Regions from separate parts of the Homo sapiens genome. Here regions 1 and 3 are each linked to region 2. Evidence: promoter capture Hi-C in 16 types of primary human blood cells and fetal thymus (Javierre and others, 2016). All regions are on one chromosome and are shown on one strand. The core of a region is centred on a gene start or on the middle of the fragment in contact, and the rest is flanking DNA. Distances in the headings are between cores, read along the strand shown.

Region 1 (4,000 bases), core at 626-3,125, 340 kb before region 2:
GATGGAGGTTTACCTCGAAAATGCTGGACGGAGGTTTACCTGGAAAATACAGAAAATACTAAAGGGCATATGGCCTAATGCCACTAATTGCTCGTATGGAAAACTTAGTAAAGGAATGTTTCATAAACAATATCTCCTGATAACTTCATTATGTTTTTATTTTTCAAATAAGTGAAATTGAATTGGGCTTTGTTGGCAGTGACTTTGTCTTTAGTAGACAGTAAGCACTGAATGCCCCTTGAGTGTGTGAAACCTTTAAAGAAATGACAGTTTAGTGTCTCTTTTACTGGAAAATTCACATCTCGATTGAAGTTAAGGACATCCTAAACAAGGAAATGTGTATATCCATAAGGGTGGTATATTTTGTATTGTGAAAAGAATGGATGTGTGACATGTTTCTGTACTGCTAAATTAGTCTGTAGTTAAATTTAATTCACCTGCATATGTAGTCTGGGAGAATTGGAGTAGCTTTTGAATGGAGAACCTGTGATCTGCATCTTCCATGCACTAAGGCCTTGTTAACAAGCAGTTTAACAAAGAAGCTGTTAAGCAGTTTGTAGCCCACGGATGGCACTTAGCAGCAGGGGACACCTAGGGAATGTTGGCCTAACTGACTTCACAAATCAGTATCTGTTCTGGCTTTTGGTGATCAGAGGATTTCTAACTTCCCTGGGCATGTTCACACAAGAAATACTTTTTCATAGGGATCTTACAATGCCATGGTAGTCTTCATATAGGAACTAGAGTGGGATTGCATTGGAGAAAAAAATGTAATTAGGGATATGACCTTATACTTCATTTTCAATGGCAGGCCCTGACAATTACTGTTTTCTATTTGCATGATTTTGATTTGGTGACTTGGTTCAAGAAAATTATGAATAATAGGAATCATACCAGACCTGATATACAGTTACAACCTCAATATGTATCTGATTAAACTCATTCTCCTGAAATCCCTCAAATCCTCACTCCCCTTCTGAGTTGCCCTAAGGTACTTATGTATTGGTATGTCAATCACCTAATACTCAAAACTGTCTTTGGCCCAATTTCTTCCTTTCCTATTAGTTCCTTTTACTTTCCCTCCCCAAGTCACTATGTGTAAGCTTTCTTAGGGACAGTGTACTAATTGGCCCCTCTCAGGTTCTTTATCTTTTTCCTGACCATCACTACCATATTAATCTTCTTTAAGACCCAGAAGTATCTTGTGGCAGTCTCCATTCATGTCTTTTGCAGCTTCCCATTGCCTGTAGTGATAAGCCCACAGTTTTCTGCCTGAAATGTGTAATTCTTGAAAATAGGATTCAGACACCATTGCCATCTGTTGTTGCTTCTTTGGAAGAATCTGTCTTCTAGCAAAACCGTCCACTCTTCACTGCCTCTGGACCTTCATATACTGTGCTGACTTATTAAGCTCTTTACAGAAACATAGTTATGGCTCATTTATGTATATGTCAAGGTCAATCAAGATAATAATCCTTAGCTATCCTGGAAGCAGCATACAGACCAGTAGAAAATGAAATGATCCCCAAGTGGCCAAAATAGCATAACGAAATAATAAACCTTCTCTTTAGTTTGAATAACACCTTCTCACACTGTATGCTATCTTATTTCACCAGTGGTTACTGTGCTTATAGGAGAAGTCCTTAAGCCCTTGTCCATGCCATAATTACTACATAGATTTTTTTTTGGGACAGGGTCTTGCTGTATTGCCCAGGCTGGTCTCAAACTCCTGGGCTCAAGCAATCCTCCCACTTCAGCCACCAGGTAGCTGAGAGTATAGGCATATGCCCAGCTTCTGTGTACTTTTAGACAAACTTTTTCAAAGAATGGTTGCCTAATACCGGAAGCAACAAATTTTGAAAGGTTTGGAGGTTGTTGGCTGTGGGCAAAAGAGAAAGGCACCTTAATAAGAGACAGGTAGCAGGGATCAAAACATTATGAGAGCAGGGAGAAAAAAACCTACAAAAAGTTTGCTAGTTATCATAAATGTATGGGTCAGGGGCCATTCTGTTTCTTGAATCCCGAAGCCAGTGTTTTCTACTGTGCTCAAAATGAAAACAAATGATCAGCCGAAGGCTAAATCACATATAATTTTTACACGTGCCACCACGAAAGAAAGCAAGGAGATGAATAATGGAATTTTTTTTTTTTTTAAGATGGAGTTTCGCTCTTGTTGCCCAGGCTGGAGTGCAATGGCATGATCTTGGTTCACTGCAGCCTCTGCCTCCCAGGTTCAAGCAATTCTCCTGCCTCAGCCTCCCAAGTACTGGGATTACAGACATGCGCCACCATGCCCGGCTAATTTTGTATTTTTAGTAGAGATGGGGTTTCACCATGTTGATCAGGCTGGTCTCGAACTCCTGACCTCAAGTAATCCACCCACCTTAGCCTCTATAGTGCTGGGATTACAGGCATGAGCCACTGCACCCGGTGGCTACATTTCTTTCTAAGTTCTGGCTTTTAATGGAATAAATGTCAGTTGGCTCCTTTTGGCATTCCCCAGAACCGTTCAATAACAACTTTAAATATAAGGATGAATGAATGAATGCAGTGAATGAACCTAGAAAGTAAATTTCACAAAGGAACCCCTCATTATATCACTGTGTTATATGAATAAGGCCATACTTGAATTTGGGGAACAAGCTTTACCTAGAAAAACTGTCATGCTCCATAGACCACTACACATGCTGTGTGCGAATGTGTGCACGCACACACGCTATGTGTATGGTATTGGAGGCTTTATGTGGGGACTGGTTAGAAGCTGCTACCGAAGCAGCTGGAAACGTTGGTCAATAACTTGGCAAAATTGTCTGCCGTTCAGAAGGCTAGAGCTCTCGCAAGCTCAAAAAGAAGATGAAACTCAGGTTTTGTTATTAACATATTGTTTCAATTCCATTTGTCACTGGTTAGCTTCAAGAAAGTCTGTTTAGTCCCAGTGGAAGCAGCAATGCCAATTGGTACGTTGCAATAGGAGCTTTAATTCTTTATGGTCGTGAAATTCTTTTCTGTTTTAAAACATCCTTAGACCATCTTTGGAAGGCAAATAGTGGCTATTTTTTAAAATCAGGTCTCAAGATGTTTGTTGACTTGTCAAAGCTTTGAAGACATCAGGACCAAGTTTACTGAATGCTGAGAGCATCAGATTCCATTCCCTAAGTATAGCCCTTATCCTTTGGGTCAGATGTTCTCTTGACAATGATGATTGAGAAGTCTTACATCTGTTAGCTGCTTGTCTTTGTTTTTAATGATGAGAAATAGCTATTTAACTATTTTGAAGGAAGAGGCGAGAGAAAGGACAAAGGAGGGAAATGGAACTGTTCCATTTTCTATTGCATGGAATAGCCCCATGATATTCCTTGCCTTTCTAAAAAAAAAAAAAAAGAGTATCCCAGCTCTCTCTACATGACCTTGGGCTTCTTTCTCACCTCCCTTGTGACCATACCCTTCTTTTCTGTTTGACATTTATTTCTCTACTTGACTCTGATAGTAGGCTTTTAGTTTTCAAAATAGTGTCTGCAAAGAACTCATGAACCTGCTAGAGAATTAAGTTCTAACAGCAGTTCCTTGTGCTTGACCACCCCCTCCCAATGCCATCTTTGATGGTGGTGGTAGCTGTTAAAAGGTTTTGTGCCCTCCACACACCTCCTTAATGGTCAGACTATTTGGAACCTGAACAAACCCATCTCTGAAAACTGTTTTGCTTTTCTTTCTCCTTCATTATGAGGTTTATTTACATTCAAAATTATAGAGAGACACTGGAGAAATAGGATGCCTATTGATTTATTTCCAAACTTAGCACAGGATTGGTTAATGCATAGTTGACATTCATTTATGATTAAGTTTGCTACAGCATTTTAAGACCAAGACAATAAATCTGCCTTAGAATAGTCAAGAATACTGATGTTTTGAGCTGTGGTTAGGTAAAAGAATGTAAAAAAATACACTCTCAAATGGATCCCACAGAAGTGTGTATACATATGAGAGAGAAAGAGGGAGAGGG
Region 2 (4,414 bases), core at 250-2,749:
TCACAGAACCACTACTTTTTTGGTATAGGGAGCCAAGGATCCAAATGGAGACTGCTACTATTTTGCGCAGCATTTCCCCACCTTGTATCTCATGGCCAAACTTTTCAACGCCCCAGATGCAATTTCAGCAGTTAAACGCATGATTTTTCCCCATGAATGTGTGTTCGTGTGTGTGTGTATTTTTAAGTATCCCTTCCCTCACTTTTTGGCACTGGTGCTGCTTTCTGCCTCCAATCTCTCCTCTCTCTGTTTCAGCCTCCACACTACAGCCAGAATCTGCTCTCTAAAATGCAATTGTGATCATGTTACTTCCCTATTTAAAAACCCTTCAATGGTTCACTAATGTCTTGCAGATTAAATTCAAACTCCTTGGTGTGCTAAACAAAGCACTCAAATATCTGGCCCCTTCTACGCGCTTATCGCTCATCATACCCTCTCTTGCATTCACTTAGCTGGTGGTATCAAACTTCTCAACAGTTCCCTACACAAGAGCCTGTTTATTGATCCTTCAGCCTGGAATTACTTCCCTTACCCGACTCAAGACTCTAGCGCCACCTTTGCTATGAAGTCTCTCTTGACCATACTCACAGATAGAACTGATTGTTCCTTTGTGTGTATGCCCACACCCTTACAGGCCTGGATCTTAAGTCTGTTATCACTGCGTTGCGCTTATTTACAAGTATCCGCTGTCCCACCCACGCTCCACTTAGGCCTCTTTATACCCCTAGGTACTCACACAGAGCTTGGCACAAGTGATGCTTTATAAATGGTCAATGAATGAACGTAGTGGAAACACAGAAGAAGAGGGAGAAGAACTGGGGAAGAAAGAAGCTCTGTGGAGAGAATACTAATTGTTTTGCACATGAAAATAATGAGTTGTGAGGGAGGTCAAAAAGGTCAAAGGGAAGAGCCCTGCCTTACAGGAACTCACTGTCTGCTGGGAGGCAAGAGGTAAGGTCCGCATACCAAACACACGAAGCAATGAGCTTATCGGGGTGAAAATGGCTCGTGCACATTATAGTATCACAGAAACTTAGAGGCTGGGGGAGGATGGAGAGGAAACTGGCCTAGTCAAGTGTCTTCTAAGTGTTAGGCGGTTTTCGAGCGTTAAACAGTTTAATCTTTACAACCACCCCATGATGAGGATAGTAGCTCCATTTTAGGGACGAAGAAACATGCTCAGAGAATTTAGGTTGCCCAATGTCACAAACTACCATGTGGAAGGACCATAATTAGAATTTAGGTCAACTGCCTCCAGAGCCCTGAGGCTTTCGCTCCCCCTCTCTCGGCGGTCGAGACCCACAGGGCTCCCATTCACCTGCGCGTCGGCCTGCGCTAGCTATAGCCCTCAGGCGCGCCGCGTTCCGCGCACTCACACCACCCTCTGCGCGCCAGCCCTGCGTCCCTCCCACGCGAACTGCGCCGGCGCGTCCAGCCCTCCCGCCCGGGGGAGGGGCGGGGTTGCGTCGCTGCCGCTGACCCTTGAGCGCGCGGCGGCAGAGGCGGTGTCCAGGCTTCCGGGCGGGTAGTCCTTCGGCTCCGGAGCCGCGACTGCGCTCGCCTAGGTGGTGGGCGGGGAGGGAAGGAAGGGAGCGGGCGCAAGGCGGCGGCGGCGGCTGCGGGTGAGGAACTTGTTGCGCCCGCGGCTGCGCGGTGCCCCTCCCTCCGCTCCAGTTCGTCGGGGCGGGCGCGGCGGCGGCGGCGAAGGAGGAGCGCGGCCGGGGCGATGCGGCGCTACCTGCGCGTCGTGGTGCTGTGTGTGGCCTGCGGCTTCTGCTCGCTCCTTTACGCTTTCAGCCAGCTCGCCGTGTCCCTGGAAGAAGGAACGGGCGGCGGTGGCGGGAAGCCGCAGGCCGCGGTGGCTTCCTGGCTCGCGGGCGGCGGACGCGGCGCCGTGAGAGGCGCCGGCGTCGCGGGCCCCGCAGCGCATCCCGGCGTGTCGGACAGGTACGGGCAGTTCCCGGTGTGGGGGACGCGGCGGGCGCGGGGCGCTGGGCGCGGGCTCGGCCTAGCCCGGGCTGCTCGCCGGTGGGTGCCGCGTCTCCCGCGTCTTTCCTCCTGTCTCTGACCCCTCACTCATTTCCCTCCTTCCCCTCCGGCCGGGGCTAAACCTGCGCTGCTCCCGCCTGAGAGTGTCCTACACTTTCTGTGTTTATCTTTTGACCCAGTCATGCGCCCTTTAAAGCAGTTAGAAATTAATTTTCAACTTTTTAAAAAGAGGGTTCTTTGAAAATAAGAGGTGTCCACAAAAGCCTTACTGCTGCCTGGCTAGTGAGAATTTCCTCTTGTTTCAGTGGAGTTCAAGTTGAGATATTTAAACATGAGGCTGGCGCCCTAGTTCAGTGTTTAAGGATTGTGTGTGTGTGTGTGAGTGTATATGTGTGTGTATTTTGTCCCTCATGCTGATTTTCCTGTGTTAACGCTTACACTTCTAAGTATTAGCCATGGTTAGTTAAATTTGGAAATGGCATTTGTGCGGGTTGTGAAATTTTCTTTTGGAAACACTCAGTTTATTAAGAAACTTAGAGCAAATTAAGAAAAATGAGCGATACTTGGCGTGCTCAAGTCTGTTGTTGGATGGGATGGAGTTACCTTTCTTGACAAATTGGTATTTAAAAAGCGACGTAATGACTTAGGACGTAATCACTGCCAGAGTGGGAATCAACATGAGATTTAAATAGAAAAAAAATGTTTCTGTCAACGCATTATGAATGCTTGAAATCTGAGCGTTTGCACTGCCTTGCAACATGGACACTTCCACCTTATGTATGGGCATCTCTCTGGGAATGACCTGAAGTGCTCCCTACCAAGACTTGGCAAATGCTGCTTTGATATAGAGAAGTATAGGGTTTGTCGGAAGAGGGAGTATAGATCAGTTGTGGGCTGTTGTTTAACATCATTTTGAGAGTCGATGGTCATTCCCAGAATGAAAGGGGAAAGTTTGGGCAGAGGAGCAGCGTGGAAAGCGGACTTGTCATGTTTTTACCCTGAGATTTGATTACAGTCAGGGTAATTCCTACATCAGGACCCTCAGTTGTCTGTCCTGGGAGAAAGCAGTCACTGAAGACTTGAATGAGCTCGTGAAAAATGACAGGTTGAAGCTAAACTGTTTATGGCCTAGTATGTTATTGTGAAGCATTTGCAATTATGGAAAAGGAATTATTTTTATATGGGGTAGAATTGTAAGGAAGCAACATTTTAATTAAATATTGAATGAAATTAGACTGATGTTAACATCACATTTTTAGTGCCTTGGTCTTAGATATTTTATTTTGTGACAGAAATTTACAAATTTTGTTTGCTTGACCAGCTAATTTTAATAAAATTATTTGAAATTTTCGAAAATAGCCTCAGTTTTAATAAACATCCAATATAATCATTACTGAAACGTTAAGTTTTATGTGTCAGGATTGAGTCAACCGAAATACTGTACTTTTTTAGGTCCTTTGAGTAGCATTACTCTTTATTTTAAATGAGGCGTACATCTAAGTTAGAACTATAGGTGTATTTATCTCTCTTTGTAAAAATGTGATGAAGAACAGCATGTCACCACATTTGCGCGCATAAGAAACCATTTGGGCAGGGGAACAACGTGGAAAAGTTGGATTGTGAAGTTTTACTCTATGGTTAGATTAAGATCACGCAAATTACTAAGACCTCAGGACTCTATTTTGTATATCGTCATTTATAACATCTTTATAGAAATGTCATAGAATTAAATCAACTTTTGGCAACGCTCGGTAGCTCACGCCTGTAATCCCAGAATTTGGGGAGGCTGAGTGGGGATGATTGATTGCTGGAGGCCAGGAGTTTGACACCAGCCTCGTCAACAACCCATCTTTACAAAAAATAAAAAAATTAAAAAAAAATTAACTGAATGTGGTGTTTCACACCTGTAATCCCAGCACTTTGGGAGGCTAAGGTGGGAGGATCACTTGAGCCCAGGAGTTCAAGGCTACAGTGAGCTATGATTGCACCAGTGTAATCCAACCTGGGTGACAGAGCAAGATCCTGTCTCAAAAAAAAAAAAAAAAATTAACTTTTTTGGCCACCATGAGATACGGTATAGAAATCCCTAACCTCTTCATGTATAAATCATTTGGCCAAGATCCAAAGCAAATCAGTGTTGGAGGAGGATTAGAAACTGTATCCTTGGAGTGTTATACAAGAGCTCTTTCTGTAAAGAAAGATAAGGGTCTAGTTTAGATAGTGGACTCAGTGGGCAATGGGGCTATGGGGCAAGCCAGCAGCTTCCTCTTTTCAGTAGTACTTAGGTATTATTGCATTTTTGCCTTTTTTGATAACATCTTACTTGAAAGATTATAACTATTTCTCTCTTTTTATTTTAAACACGGGATCTAGGTTTGTACCCAGTAAGTTCCATTGGTCAGATCTTATAAAAACTATTCATGGT
Region 3 (4,416 bases), core at 35-2,534, 260 kb before region 2:
GAATTTCAATAGCCGTTTTACAAAAAAAGGATATTCATGTGCCAATAACCACAGGAAACAGTCCTCAGCATCACTAATCAGGCAAATGCAAATTAAAACCATAAGGAGATACATAACATGTAACAACATCAACGAATCTCATAAACACAATTTTGAACAAAAGATGCTAGACACAAATACTATATTCCATATGATTCTATTTGTATAAAGTTCAAAAACAGAGGCCGGGCACGGTGGCTCACGCCTGTAATCCCAGCACTTTGGGAGGCTGAGGCAGGCGGATCACGAGGTCAGGAGATCGAGACCGTCCTAGCTAACGGGAAACCCCATCTCTACTAAAAATACAAAAAATTAGCCGGGCATGGTGGCGGGTGCCTGTAGTCCCAGCTACTCGGGAGGCTGAGGCAGGAGAATGGCATGAACCCGGAAGGTGGAGTTTGCAGTGAGCCAAGAACGCACCACTGCACTCCAATCTGGGTGACAGAGCAAGACTCTGTCTCAAAAAAAAAAAAAAACCAGACTAAACTATAATGTTAAGAATCAATTTAGTAGTTACCTTGAAGGGGGTAAAGGTTAGGAGGGGAGATGAACGGATTCTTGGGTGCTGGTAATATTCTATTTCTTGCCTTGAATGGTAGTTCTTACAAGTATTTGCTTTGTAGAAAAAATCACTCAGATTAACAACTAGGTTCTGAACACTCTTCTTTCTGTATTACATACATCACTAAAAGTGATTTTAAAAAAAAAGCAAAACATAATAACAAACATAGCAGAGTTTAGCATGGCTAACTTCAGCCAACTGGAAAATTAAATTACACTGAACTGCTCACTTTTCCCCCAAGTTCCAGTAATTGAGGGATTAAAAATCTTAAGATTTGGCTTTCAGGCAGACCAAAAAACCCCTACAAATATTCCCCCAGCTAACTCATGTAAATAAGTATTCAAAACAGAAATAACATATATTGCATTGTCTGATTTCCTATAATGGTTTTCTTTTTAAAACCCCAAAAACATAAAAAATGCAAAAAGAAAGAGGAAGAGTAAGGAAAGAAAAACAACGAAAGATAACATAATTAGCTCCCAATAAACCAGACATTAGACAATCATCAATTCACTTCTAGTGTTTACTTTCAAGTTACCTTTAAGTAAAACATGAGATTTTCTTAGTGCAGCTTTTAAAATGTTTCTTATAAATGGACTGAGAATATCAATTAACTCACACTGTAATTGTAGTCAGCACTCAAGTGCATATAAAACATACACATTTGTTCTCTCCTGGCACAATACCTGAATTAAACAATAGTTAAGAGAGGACAGCAGATGTTTCAAGACAGATCACATCTTAAAAATGAGAGATGACAGATGAAGGGGAAAGTATGAGAACAACTTATGCTTTAGGAAAAGGACGGTAGAGAATTCTAAGGAGGAAACATTAATCTTTTTATGCTATGTGTATACAAGCAAAACAGATAAGGAACACTGAGATAAAAAGAGCAAGCCAAATGAAAAATGTGAAAGCAAAATCACAAAGTCCCCCAAAATAAGCAAAAAAAATTTATTTTATTTTTATTTTTTTAGACGGAGTCTCACTCTGTCACCCAGGCTAGAGTGCAATGGCATGATCTTGGCTCACTGCAACCTCTGTCTCCTGGGTTCAAGCGATTCTCCTGCCTCAGCCTCCTGAGTAGCTGGGATTACAGGCATGGGCCACCACGCCCGGCTAATTTTGTATTTTTAGTAGAGACAGGGTTTCACCATGTTGGTGAGGCTGGTCTTGAACTCCTGACCTTGTGATCCGCCTGCTTCAGCCTCCCAAAGTGCTGGGATTACAGGTGTGAGCCACCATACCCGGCTGCAAAACAAATATTTTTTAATAGTATTTTTACATTTCATTTTGAACAAATTAGGAAGGAGGTGGGGAAAAGGAAATAAACAACAACAAAACAAAAGAAGTGAAGAGGTAAGAGGCAAATAGTCGAAACCTTGACACTGACCAGAAAATCACCTTTCAGAGGTAAACCTATATCACAAACTTGCTATGAAATATTTTTGTTGTTGTTGTTGTTGTTGTTGAGACGGAGTTTTGCTCTTGTTGCCCAGGCTGGAGTGCAAGGGCGCAATCTCGGCTCACTGCAACCTCTGCCTCCCAGGTTCAAGTGATTCTCTTGCCTCAGCCTCCTAAGTAGCGAGGATTATAGGCACCCACCACCATGTTGGGCTAATTTTTGTATTTTTAGTAGAGATGGTGTTTCACTATGTTGGCCAGCCTGGTCTCGAACTCCTGGCCTCAAGTGATCCACCCGCCTGGGCCCCCCAAAGTGCTGGGATTACAGGCGTGAGCCACTGTGCCCAGCCTAAAATATTCTTAAGAAGTAATTTGAAAGTAATCAATATTGCAAAGCTGCAAAGAAACAGGCAGAAAGTATTACTTAACACTACCATTAACCACCTGTATGGTAATTTTCATACATAAACGGCTTTCACATATAATAGGTTGTCAATTCTGTGAGAGAACTTATAATTAGAGAATGCAGTGAGACCTCGTTTCAAAAAAAAGAAAAAAAAAAAAGAGGAAAAGGTCTCTAAGATGTGAAAACACTAAGTGTTCATTATACCATGCCATTTATAAATGTCCTTACCATAAAATACTCAGAGACTAAAAAAAATTGTTGACCTAAGAAAACAAAATTGAGTAGCATGGGACAGTAATTTGGAACCACTAGGTAAAATCCTTACCTAACACTGGTAGAGAGTGGATGAGGAGAAGAGGTAAGAAAATGAAGCTTATACTTGGGTTTATGCCATGGGGATTACCTTTACTGGAACTGCTTTATAACTGGGTATTTTTTGTTTCAGTGGTAACATCCCCAAGGATAAGGTGCAAGATGGCCTCATCCCTTAAGGTACTCATATCATTTTAAGTATGGTTCTAATAAGACTTGGTATCTGTACTATCTAGATTTTATATTTGATGTAAATATAACATCTTAACAGATTCATCAAGCTTCCCACTTAAAGAGATATCAGGTACAAAATAACTAAATTACCTTTAAGAGATGCTTCCTTTTAAATATGATACAAATTATCTTATAGAGATAGCTTTTAGATTCTCTTAAAATAAAAACTTTATACTTTTACTTCAACAAGCTTCTGCAGTAACAGCATGACCAGAATCTGGTAAATTGTAACTTTCAAACTCTTTGAAATTTGGTCAAAATAAATCATCTCTTTTCAAGTTGTTTTGGGAATCCAGACTTTCAGAGGTACATCTTATGTGAGTATATTTTACTAACTGTATGTATGTAAAATCTGAACAAGTGGTTGGTAATAATGGATTGTTAAATACAGTAGGGTAGACTTGATGTCTAGACAAGATAGTGGTGAGAGCTGCACTTTAAAGAACATTGGTTACTTGCTCTGATAAAAAGGAAAAACAAAGAATGTTTCTATTATGTAAGGTTACTATGAAATGCTTAGATCTTGAACCTACAACAATAGATACAGCTGCCACTACTTTGAAAACAATTTCATTGGAATGCATCATATGCTAAAAGCTGATTATTTTCCATGTCCACAACTCTAGTTAACATTTTCAAGACTGTACATTTCACTAATCTTTACTTCTAGCCTCTTTAAATGTAAAACAAAAACAGATTATATATGAGAAACAGCAAGAGCTAGTGAGTGTTGGGAATCATCAGACAATGAGTAGTAGCTGAAATGAGACACTGTAAGAAGAGAAAATGGCCACAGCTACAACACTTACAATTAAATCTAACACCCTATCTACGGAAGAAAACCTGCTCTGCACAATTCATTAACTCAACAAATACTAATTACTGACTGACACATAACAGTGGTATATTCGAAGGTTATTTAAAAACTTATTTTAATTTAAGAGCCCTGTGTCCTTAAGAAGGTTTAAAAAAAAAACTTAAAATTCTATAGTTAAATATGAAATTACTACACACAACTGTGTACAGAAAAAGTAATATTTAACTTTTAATTTTCAGTATGATTTAGATCAGGAAGAGACCTAAGATTATTCAGCCCAACCCTTTTATTTGGAGGGAAAAGCGAAGAAAAGCTAGTAAAGTAGCCCATATAGTCGCACAAATGGTGATAGTACGGAATTCAAAATAAAAAATATATTAAGTAGATTTAGACTTACAACAGACTCTTAATAAAGCTAATAACAATCAACAAAATAAAGTCTGAATTAACTCAATTTTTCTTAGCTAATTGTAATAAGGAAAGGGGTTCCTAAATGGCTAAGAAGTAAAGTTTCACATAACAAAGCTGGCATAGCTATGACTATAATAAAAATTGTCTTTACAGAAACAAAAAATATTCAGGATAAGTGTTTTGAAGTTAAAAGAAAGAAAAGAACACCAAAATAATCAATCCCTTTCCCCA

Evidence for each region. Contacts are between HindIII fragments. The CHiCAGO score rates a contact against its expected background, and 5 or more counts as called.
Region 1: a contact is called between a fragment that was not itself captured here and the fragment with the promoter of GXYLT1 in region 2, in 1 of 17 cell types (megakaryocytes). The highest score is 6.7, in megakaryocytes.
Region 3: a fragment that was not itself captured here is called in contact with the fragment with the promoter of GXYLT1 in region 2 in 1 of 17 cell types (non-activated CD4 T cells); the score reaches 6.3 in non-activated CD4 T cells.

Annotation. Positions count from the first base shown.
Region 1 is chr12:42,478,108-42,482,107 of GRCh38, reverse strand. The region is part of intron 1 of PRICKLE1 (prickle planar cell polarity protein 1); the gene reads left to right. Among named protein-coding and RNA genes, the nearest start is that of PRICKLE1, 110 kb to the left of the region's middle. RefSeq lists enhancers at 220-831, 2,841-2,930 and a silencer at 1,145-1,345. The HindIII fragment of the contact is 1,540 bases long and covers 1,106-2,645 here.
Region 2 is chr12:42,141,959-42,146,372 of GRCh38, reverse strand. It overlaps GXYLT1 (glucoside xylosyltransferase 1), which reads left to right and starts at 1,499. Exons shown (of 8, transcript NM_173601.2): 1 at 1,499-1,947. The coding sequence starts at 1,727. RefSeq lists an enhancer at 1,072-1,141 and silencers at 1,302-1,801, 1,882-2,111. The HindIII fragment of the contact is 13,899 bases long and covers 1-4,414 here.
Region 3 is chr12:42,402,186-42,406,601 of GRCh38, reverse strand. The region is part of intron 9 of PPHLN1 (periphilin 1); the gene reads right to left. Among named protein-coding and RNA genes, the nearest start is that of PPHLN1, 78 kb to the right of the region's middle. The HindIII fragment of the contact is 3,002 bases long and covers 1-2,785 here.